Linked DNA regions of Homo sapiens: regions 1 and 2 are each linked to region 3. The links are contacts of gene promoters, found by promoter capture Hi-C in human tissues and cell types (Jung and others, 2019). All regions are on one chromosome and are shown on one strand. Each heading gives the region's core, a stretch centred on a gene start or on the middle of the fragment in contact. The rest is flanking DNA. Distances are from core to core; before and after follow the strand shown.

The links. The method cuts DNA at HindIII sites, captures the fragments that hold promoters and counts their contacts. A contact is called where the count stands out against the background at its distance.
Region 1: a contact is called between a fragment that was not itself captured here and the fragment with the promoter of PAWR in region 3, in 1 of the 25 tissues and cell types used here (IMR-90 fibroblasts).
Region 2: a fragment that was not itself captured here is called in contact with the fragment with the promoter of PAWR in region 3 in 1 of the 25 tissues and cell types used here (lymphoblastoid cells).

What each region holds. Positions count from the first base shown.
Region 1 is chr12:80,775,613-80,778,312 of GRCh38, reverse strand. No RefSeq gene overlaps it. Among named protein-coding and RNA genes, the nearest start is that of LINC01490, 14 kb to the right of the region's middle. RefSeq lists enhancers at 1-148, 1-592. The HindIII fragment of the contact is 6,837 bases long and covers 1-2,700 here.
Region 2 is chr12:80,759,050-80,761,839 of GRCh38, reverse strand. No RefSeq gene overlaps it. Among named protein-coding and RNA genes, the nearest start is that of LINC01490, 2.7 kb to the left of the region's middle. The HindIII fragment of the contact is 5,402 bases long and covers 1-2,790 here.
Region 3 is chr12:79,689,517-79,692,337 of GRCh38, reverse strand. PAWR (pro-apoptotic WT1 regulator) reads left to right here and starts at 1,374. Exons shown (of 7, transcript NM_002583.4): 1 at 1,374-1,466; 2 at 1,947-2,609. The coding sequence starts at 2,094. It overlaps PPP1R12A-AS2 (PPP1R12A antisense RNA 2), which reads right to left and starts at 2,306. Exons shown (of 7, transcript NR_187531.1): 1 at 1,942-2,306. RefSeq lists silencers at 1,077-1,376, 2,147-2,666. The HindIII fragment of the contact is 10,737 bases long and covers 1-2,821 here.

The sequences.
Region 1 (2,700 bases), core at 154-2,653, 1.1 Mb before region 3:
TCCAATTGAAGTGACTCAGCTTTTTTCCCCATGGTCTATTACCCTCAGTAGGCTAGTTTGGGCTTGTTCTCATAATAGAGGAAAAAATCTCAAGAGAGAGCAAAAGTCCACAAGACCTTCTGAGAGTTAGGCTCAGACAGGCAAAATGTAATTTCTATCACATTCTATTGGCCAAAACAAGTCACTAGCCCAGCCCAGAGTCAGCAACTGGGGGAAAAGTCTCTACCTCTTGATCATTGTAAAAGGCATTTATACACAGAGGAACAGAAAATTGGGCTGCTTTTGCAATCTACAACAGTGTTTTACCGAAATAAGATAATTAGAGAAGTATTTTGGGTAGACAAAGCTATACTTAACAGCTAACATTTATTGAGTTGTATTTTTTTTCTCTAATTTCATTTTTATCCTGACCTTTATCTTTTGTCAGAATACTTAACTTGCTAAAGTGTCTGACCCGTGTCCAATTGTTCTTCTCACAGGAAACTTATTTACACTGGCAAATGCCCTTGTGACTCTCACCAGACCTGTGAATAGTTTATTCCTACCAAGATAGCCACTCTGTAGGAGAGCCCTGACTGGAAAAGAAGTTAGGTTCGGGTATGTTGGTCGTGTGAGATGCAGAAGAGGCAGCACAACAAAACACATGGTATATTAATCCGTTTTCACACTGCTAATAAAGACATACCAGAGACTGGGTAACTTATACAGGGTAGATGTTTAATGGACTCACAGTTCCACATGGATGGGAGGCCTCACAATTATGATGGAAGGCAAGGAGGAACAAGTCACGCCTTACATGGATGACAGCAGGCAAAGAGAGAGCTTGTGCAGGGAAACTCCCCTTTTTAAAACCATCAGATCTCGTGAGACTTATTCACTATCACGAGAACAGCACAGGAAAGACCCACCCCCAAGATTCAATTACCTCCCACTGGGTCCCTCCCACAACATGTGGGAATTGTGGGAGCTACAATTCAAGATGAAATTTGGGTAGGGACACAGCCAAACTATATCACATGGAATAATAGAAGCAGTTTTATTACTCACATATACCCTAGAGAGAAGAGAGCAGCACATTTTTCAGGACCGACAGGAAGGAGGGAGTCCAGGACACACACTCAACTGTCAAGTGGGGAGCAAGAGAGATAGAGTAAGAGACCTGAGGTCCAAAGACTTTATTGGGGTTCAGGCCATTTCCTAGGTAGATTTCCGGTGGGGAGTTACAACTGGTGGGTTTAAGAGCAAGTGGGCAGTTTGATGCAGTCCTGCAGTGACTGAAAGGTGGTCACTGTGGCCTATCTACAAAGCACATGCCACATGTGGGAGTGGGTAGAGCAAGTAGGTTGAATGTAACTATCTCGTAGGGAAGTAGTCACCAGGAGGCAGTTAATGAGACAGATATCTGAATGAAACACCTTGAAAAACTGGGAAGAGGTGGAGAACTGAAAACTCTGTCAAGGGTGACTAAGCTCTGCCTCTTGTATGAGGAAGTCAAACCTATTAACTCATTGAATATGGAAAGTCAAGCCATTTACATTCAAAATGGATGTTGAAGCAACATACAATTATAAGAATTCATTATATTTGTACTTACTATGTGTCAAGTGCTGTTCTAAGAACTTCACATATATTAACAGATTTTAATTATTGTGATATCCTTTATTTCAGAGAAACAGACTACCTGCATATGAACGTTTAGGCAGGGTTTACTAATAGTAAAGGAAACCTAGCTGGGTCTAAAGTTAGGAATTCCCTGCACCCTGGGCTGTTGCTCCTCATTAGAAGTTAAGCTACCCAGCATAGTCACTGCTTAAGTTCCCAGCTGCCTATGTAGAATGTGACAAATAATAGGATAGTTTTGACTTTCTTCTTTCAATCCAATTGCAATCTACTGAGGCAAATATGATATGATATTATATGTTATAAGATCTCATGTTTACATATGAGAGTAATATGTTTTTATTGGGCCAGAATTATAGCTAAGATTTGAAGATGAAATAGAAGTTAACTGCATATTCCCATACTCTAAAGAAAGCCATTATATTAGTCTGTTCTCACTCGGCTAGGAAGAAATACTTGAGACTGGATAATTGACAAAGGGAAGAGGTTTAATTGACTCATAGTTATGGATTGCTGGGGAGGCCTCAGGAAACTTACAATCATGGCAGAAGGCAAACGAGAAGCAGTCACCTTCTTTACATGGCAGCAAGGCGGAGTGAGTATGTGTAGGGGAAATGCCAGATGCTTATAAAACCATCAGATCTCACAAGAACTCACTCACTATCATGAGAACAGCATGGGAGAAACTACCCCCATGATCCAATTACCTCCACCTGGACCTGTCCTTGACACATAGGGATTATGGGGATTACAATTTGAGATAAGATTTCAGTGGGGACACAGAGTCAAACCATATCATCCCTATACTATCTAAAAATAATAGCACTGGGCCCATTCAATTCAAAGCACCCTTCCTCTTCCATATATCAGATCAACAGAGAAATAAAAGTGTAAGAAATGATGTTTTTGGGAGAGGTTTTTCTATGTCCACCTTCACTCTTGCCCAGCCCAACCCATGTGAAGGAGAGGAGCTTAAAGATAAACTATCAGAAAAATTTAGTAGGGTTAACACTGGATCACCCAGATTCATAATAAATATTACTAGCTCTAAAGAGAGAGATAGACTGGAATATAATTAGA
Region 2 (2,790 bases), core at 278-2,777, 1.1 Mb before region 3:
CCCTGCCCTGCCCCAATCTATCCTCAACACAGCAGTTGGTCTCCAAAAGGAGTTGCTGTCTTTAAAGCAACTCCTTTAATAAAAGCATAAGTCAGACTGTGTCACTCCTCTGCTTAGAACCCTGTAATGACCCTTTAGAGTAAAAACAGATTCTTTTAAGAGCCTTCAAGGCTTTTTGTGATCTATCTCTCTCTTACTCCTCTGCCACATGTCCTACTAGCCCCGCTTAGCTCACTCCCCTCCAACCACATTGGCCCCTGAGCTGTTTCTCAGGAACATTGGGTATGTCTACCTTAGGACATTTGAGCTAGCCTTCTCTCTGCTTAGGATACTTTCTTCGAGACAACTGCTGGGCTAATTCCTGCAGATCCTTCAACACTTCGTTGGGATCTTGTTTTCACAGTATGGCCTACTCTATCTACTTTATTTAATATTTTCCTTTGTTCGTCAGTATTTATTAGCTTCCAACATGCATATCTGTGTCTGTATCTGCCCCCTGCACTAGCCCTTCTCTTTCTCTCTTCTGTGCTGCTTATTTTTCATTGTTTCCCTCTTCTGAATTAAAAACTTTACAAAGGCAGAGATTTTAATCTGTTTTATTCATCGGTGTGCCCCCACTTCCTAAAAAACTCAATAAATATTTGCTGAATAATTGAATGGGTGGGAAGGAGGAAAGAGTAATGTGTAGAGCGGATCTGAGAAACATTGAAGATGATTTATTGAGCACTGTTCTTACTTGTTTTCCCCTTTAATATAAGATTGACAAAATGCAAGCCTCGGTTCTATCACAATTTCTTGTCTAGAAGTTACTCTTCAAATACCAGGAGTAGATGGTGAAACACAACCCTCATATCACCCGTTGAGTATAACTGGGCCAGAACAATAACAATAAGAATAATATGAAACAATAAATAGGTAGACAAGAAAATGGCAAATTCTTTGAATGTCGCTTCGAGGTAAGTCAGTAGTTTTCCCATGCTTCAGGGTTAAAAGGATTCAGAAAGCACTACCCCAGAGTATGCTGCCTTGGCATATTGACGATTTCAAACAGAAGGAATTTGAGAAACAGCAGGTGCAGGAAGGACTCTCTGAGCTTCTTCCCCTTAAGCAGGTCATGAGACTCTCATGTGAGAGGTGCACTCCCTGTACCTGGAGGAAAGGAGCATCCTGATCTCTGAAGATGGAGAGTTACCAGGAGGAATCTGAAAGAACAGACTTTGCTAAATGTCCCCCACTTTACTACACTTAGCCCTTTCTCCTATGATATCTTTTTGTACTATCAAATTTTCCCAAGACTCTCCACTCTTCATCACACCTAGCATAAAACCATTCAAGATTAACAGTCTCTTGAGGTCTTTATTTCCTTAGGAAGGCTCCTGTGTCATGTGAAACTTATAGTAAATAAATTAGTGTGTTTTTCTCTTGACAATCTGTCTTTCGTCGGTCTAATTTACAAGACTCCATTCAATGAGCCTAAGATGTGTAGGAAAGAAAAGGGTTTTTTTTTTTCTTGCCCTACAAGGTCTAACAATCTAGTTCATCAAATATAAGTTCACATTTGTATTAGTTCTCAGGAAAACTGGTTTGGATCCAGCCTATTAAAAAATTGCCTCAGAAGAAGTTAAAACTGATAATTTAAAAGACCAGTAAACATATACTGAGTGAGATATAAGCAGTGTGTGAGTTGCGAGTGGGAAAAAATAAAAAAGACACTGTCTTTGCCCAGTAAGTGGTTATAATTGGGTAGGAGACACAAAGATGTAACAGCAATAATTACAATCCTCTGTAGAATGTGATAAATGCTATAATAAAGGTACAAAAATGTATAAAACAACAATAGAATAGATTAATTACAATACTTTGAGATATTCATTTTTTTGAATTTTATTTTAAATGTGTTTTTATTTCTTGCAAGACGGTTCAACTAAACTGACCTCGGTCAACAACAAAAAATTGCTATGAGTTTTATTTTATGTTACCAGACTCTATTCTCTTCATTTCCCACTACCTCAGTTTGTTTAAGCAATGCTTTGAAAAGTACAAACTCCTGAACCCTAAAGCTTTAAAGAGTATTTTTAATCTAGTAATTCCCCATAATCTAAAGTGCTAACAAGACTCAATTCAATTCGTTTTATTATCTAAGGTTGAAATTAATCAGAAAATATAGTGTAGATCCCATAAAACACAATTCTTGCACCTACTGAAATACTGAATACTATTATCTGATCGAATTTCATTTAGATGATCACACTTATACAACCAGAACAAAAATTATGATGAAATTCCTACACTAACATTCCCTATTTCAGTTATTCACTGAAATGTTATTATTCATAACATTAGAATCAGAAACTTGGGAATTATTTTGAAATCTTTCTTTTCTTCCTCTCATCCAATAGTCAATCAATCACACAGTCTTTCCAATAAATCTCTTGGTCTCTTTACTGTTATCCTAATCCAATCTACTACCTTATCTTTTTTTTCCAACATAAAATTCTATTTTATTTTATTTTCAACTGTCAGATAATAATTGTATGTATTTATGGGATGCAGTGTGATATTTCAAAATACATATACATTGTGGAATGATCAAATCAGTAATTAGCATATACATCAACACAAATATTTATCATTTCTTATGGTGAGAACATTTAACATTCTCTCTTTCAGCTATTTTGAAACATACAATATATTATTAATAACTGTAGTCACCTTACTATCCAACAGAATGCCAGAAATTATTCCTTCTGTTTAATTGTACCCTCTTACCTGTTGATCAGTGTCTCCTCT
Region 3 (2,821 bases), core at 125-2,624:
CAGCCTTTTAGACCTATTCCCAACAAAAGCTTTTAATTTTCTAAGGATTTTTCCAGAGCTCTCGCCATACGTTTCCCACAACAGCCAGACCAAAGACCAAAACTGTCTTTCCCTGAGAAATATAGAGCATGTGAATCACTTTCTTCTGTTCCCAGTTCTGTGGCAGGCAAACACTGATTGCTCACTCATCATGTGCTACCTGGGCAAAACAGGAATATTAAGTAGGAAGAAAGGTTTATGTTAGGTAAGAGCGTGACTTAGGGCTCTCCTACTTTTTTACAAAATGGAGACCTGGCATTTGTAGCCTCCCACAATGATGTGCCCTGACATTACTTGGATATAGAAAGGTCAGTCTTAGGTGCGTCAGTGACAGCCCACCCCGCTCTGATCCAGAAATTTCAGATGACTTGCATCAGAGGATAAGCCTCTGGCATGTTAATAATGAAAAAATAGAGACAATCACTGCCCCAGCTCATCTCAAATTAGCATCAGTGCAGCGTTAGTACTTTGGTAGGGAGCTTTGCTGCTAAATTCATTCTCTGTAAAGAGGAGAGGCAGAGACAGGGTTAAGGGGAAAACTCCAAGACTGGAATCGCCAATACAATAAACTGTCGAACTGAGTTTTTTCTCCCGCAACCCTAAGATACTAGTAAGTCCTTCCTCTTAGCCAACCCTTTTCACCAGGGCACCGCAGTTTTCTTAGAAGGAGGGTGCTGGGTTTGTCTCAGGTCTTTCTATTCTCCTGCCCGCTGCCCTAGTACATCTGAAAAGGGAGCAGCGACTAGGAAAAGAGACACGTGGGTATTTTCCCATCCTGTCTAGTCATTCCCTGAATCATCACAAGTTATCGCACTTTTCCCCTTAGCCAGCAGCGTTCGAGACTTTCTCTCAAATAATACGGTCTTGTACTTAAAAGGAAGAGTGGTGGGAGAAGAGAGAGGCGGAGAAGACAAGCAAGAAGGGCGTGGAGTGCCGTTCCCGCCCCGGAGTCGGAGGCGCCGGGAGGCCGGACGCCGCGAAGCTGCTAGCCCAGGAATGTGCCGTCTAACTCGCAGGCCGCGGGCGGAGCGCGGCGGGCGCGCTGTGGTCTGCGGCGGGAGCGGGGCAGAGGACGGCTGGCGCAGGGCAGGCTGCAGCGGCGGGCCGGACGCGACGCCGCGCACCTGAGCGCCGGGGGCGGGGCGTCAGCGGCCACGACCCTTCCCACCGCGCGCCGCGCCCCTCGCGCGCCGCCTCGGCCTTTTCCGCTCGTGCTTCGGCGCCGCTCGGCTCCCTTCCCGCCCCTGGCTCCCTCCCTCCCTCCCTCCCTCCTTCTTCTCCCTCCCTCCTGTCCTGGGATTGCCTGGAGCTCCGCACCGCGAGTTTGCCGCGGCACTTTCCGCGCGGCGGAAGAGCGCGCGCCAGCTTCGGCACACCTGGGAGCCGGATCCCAGCCCTACGCCTCGTCCCCTACAAGCTCCTCCAAGGTAAGGCGCTCGCTCACACCCGGTCCTTTCCACGCTCGGCGGGACAGCTGGGTCCCCGCCTCCTCTGCGAACCGGCTAGGAGCTCCGCGCCTCGCCTTGGGAGTGGGGTTGTAGCTGACGGGGACCTCGGACCGGCGGTGGCTAGAGCGCGGAGCAGGCGATACGACGAGCCGACAGGTGGCGGGTCTAGCCCTAGTATCTCGACCGCCGCCGGCGCGGACCTTGGTGGGGATGGGGCGGGCGGGCCGACTTGGGGGTGGGGTCAGTCCTCTCTCCTCCCTTCTAGGGGCGGCGATCGTCGGGGTCCGTACTGTAGGTGCGTGGGAGAAACTTTGCAGGGTGGGGACCCGGCGGCTGCTGGCCGGTAGTGACTGGTGGGCGCGCTCGAGGACTCCAAGGGGCGCAGCCCGGGGGCAGACCCTTGGGTCGGGCGGGGATCTTACGCTTCCCTTACCCGCCCCCTTTTGTCTTTCACCTCAGCCCCGCCGGCTGCTGTGGGAGCGGCGGCCGTCCCTCTCCTGGAGGTCGTCTCCTGGCATCCTCGGGGCCGCAGGAAGGAAGAGGAGGCAGCGGCCGGAGCCCTGGTGGGCGGCCTGAGGTGAGAGCCCGACCGGCCCCTTTGGGAATATGGCGACCGGTGGCTACCGGACCAGCAGCGGCCTCGGCGGCAGCACCACAGACTTCCTGGAGGAGTGGAAGGCGAAACGCGAGAAGATGCGCGCCAAGCAGAACCCCCCGGGCCCGGCCCCCCCGGGAGGGGGCAGCAGCGACGCCGCTGGGAAGCCCCCCGCGGGGGCTCTGGGCACCCCGGCGGCCGCCGCTGCCAACGAGCTCAACAACAACCTCCCGGGCGGCGCGCCGGCCGCACCTGCCGTCCCCGGTCCCGGGGGCGTGAACTGCGCGGTCGGCTCCGCCATGCTGACGCGGGCGGCCCCCGGCCCGCGGCGGTCGGAGGACGAGCCCCCAGCCGCCTCTGCCTCGGCTGCACCGCCGCCCCAGCGTGACGAGGAGGAGCCGGACGGCGTCCCAGAGAAGGGCAAGAGCTCGGGCCCCAGTGCCAGGAAAGGCAAGGGGCAGATCGAGAAGAGGAAGCTGCGGGAGAAGCGGCGCTCCACCGGCGTGGTCAACATCCCTGCCGCAGAGGTGAGCCGGGCGGGGGCCGCAGCCGGACCGGGCCGGGGCGGGCAGCTGCCTCCCGGTGTCTTCCTCCTGGGAGCTACCCGGGGCGCAGAGTTTACCTCCCCTGGCTCGTACTTGTCCCTTCACCGAGTTAGGCAGGCAGGGGGTGATGGAGTTTTACTCTGAACAAATGCTTCCTGGGAAGTTCCCCAAACTCAGAGTAGGACACGTGCTTT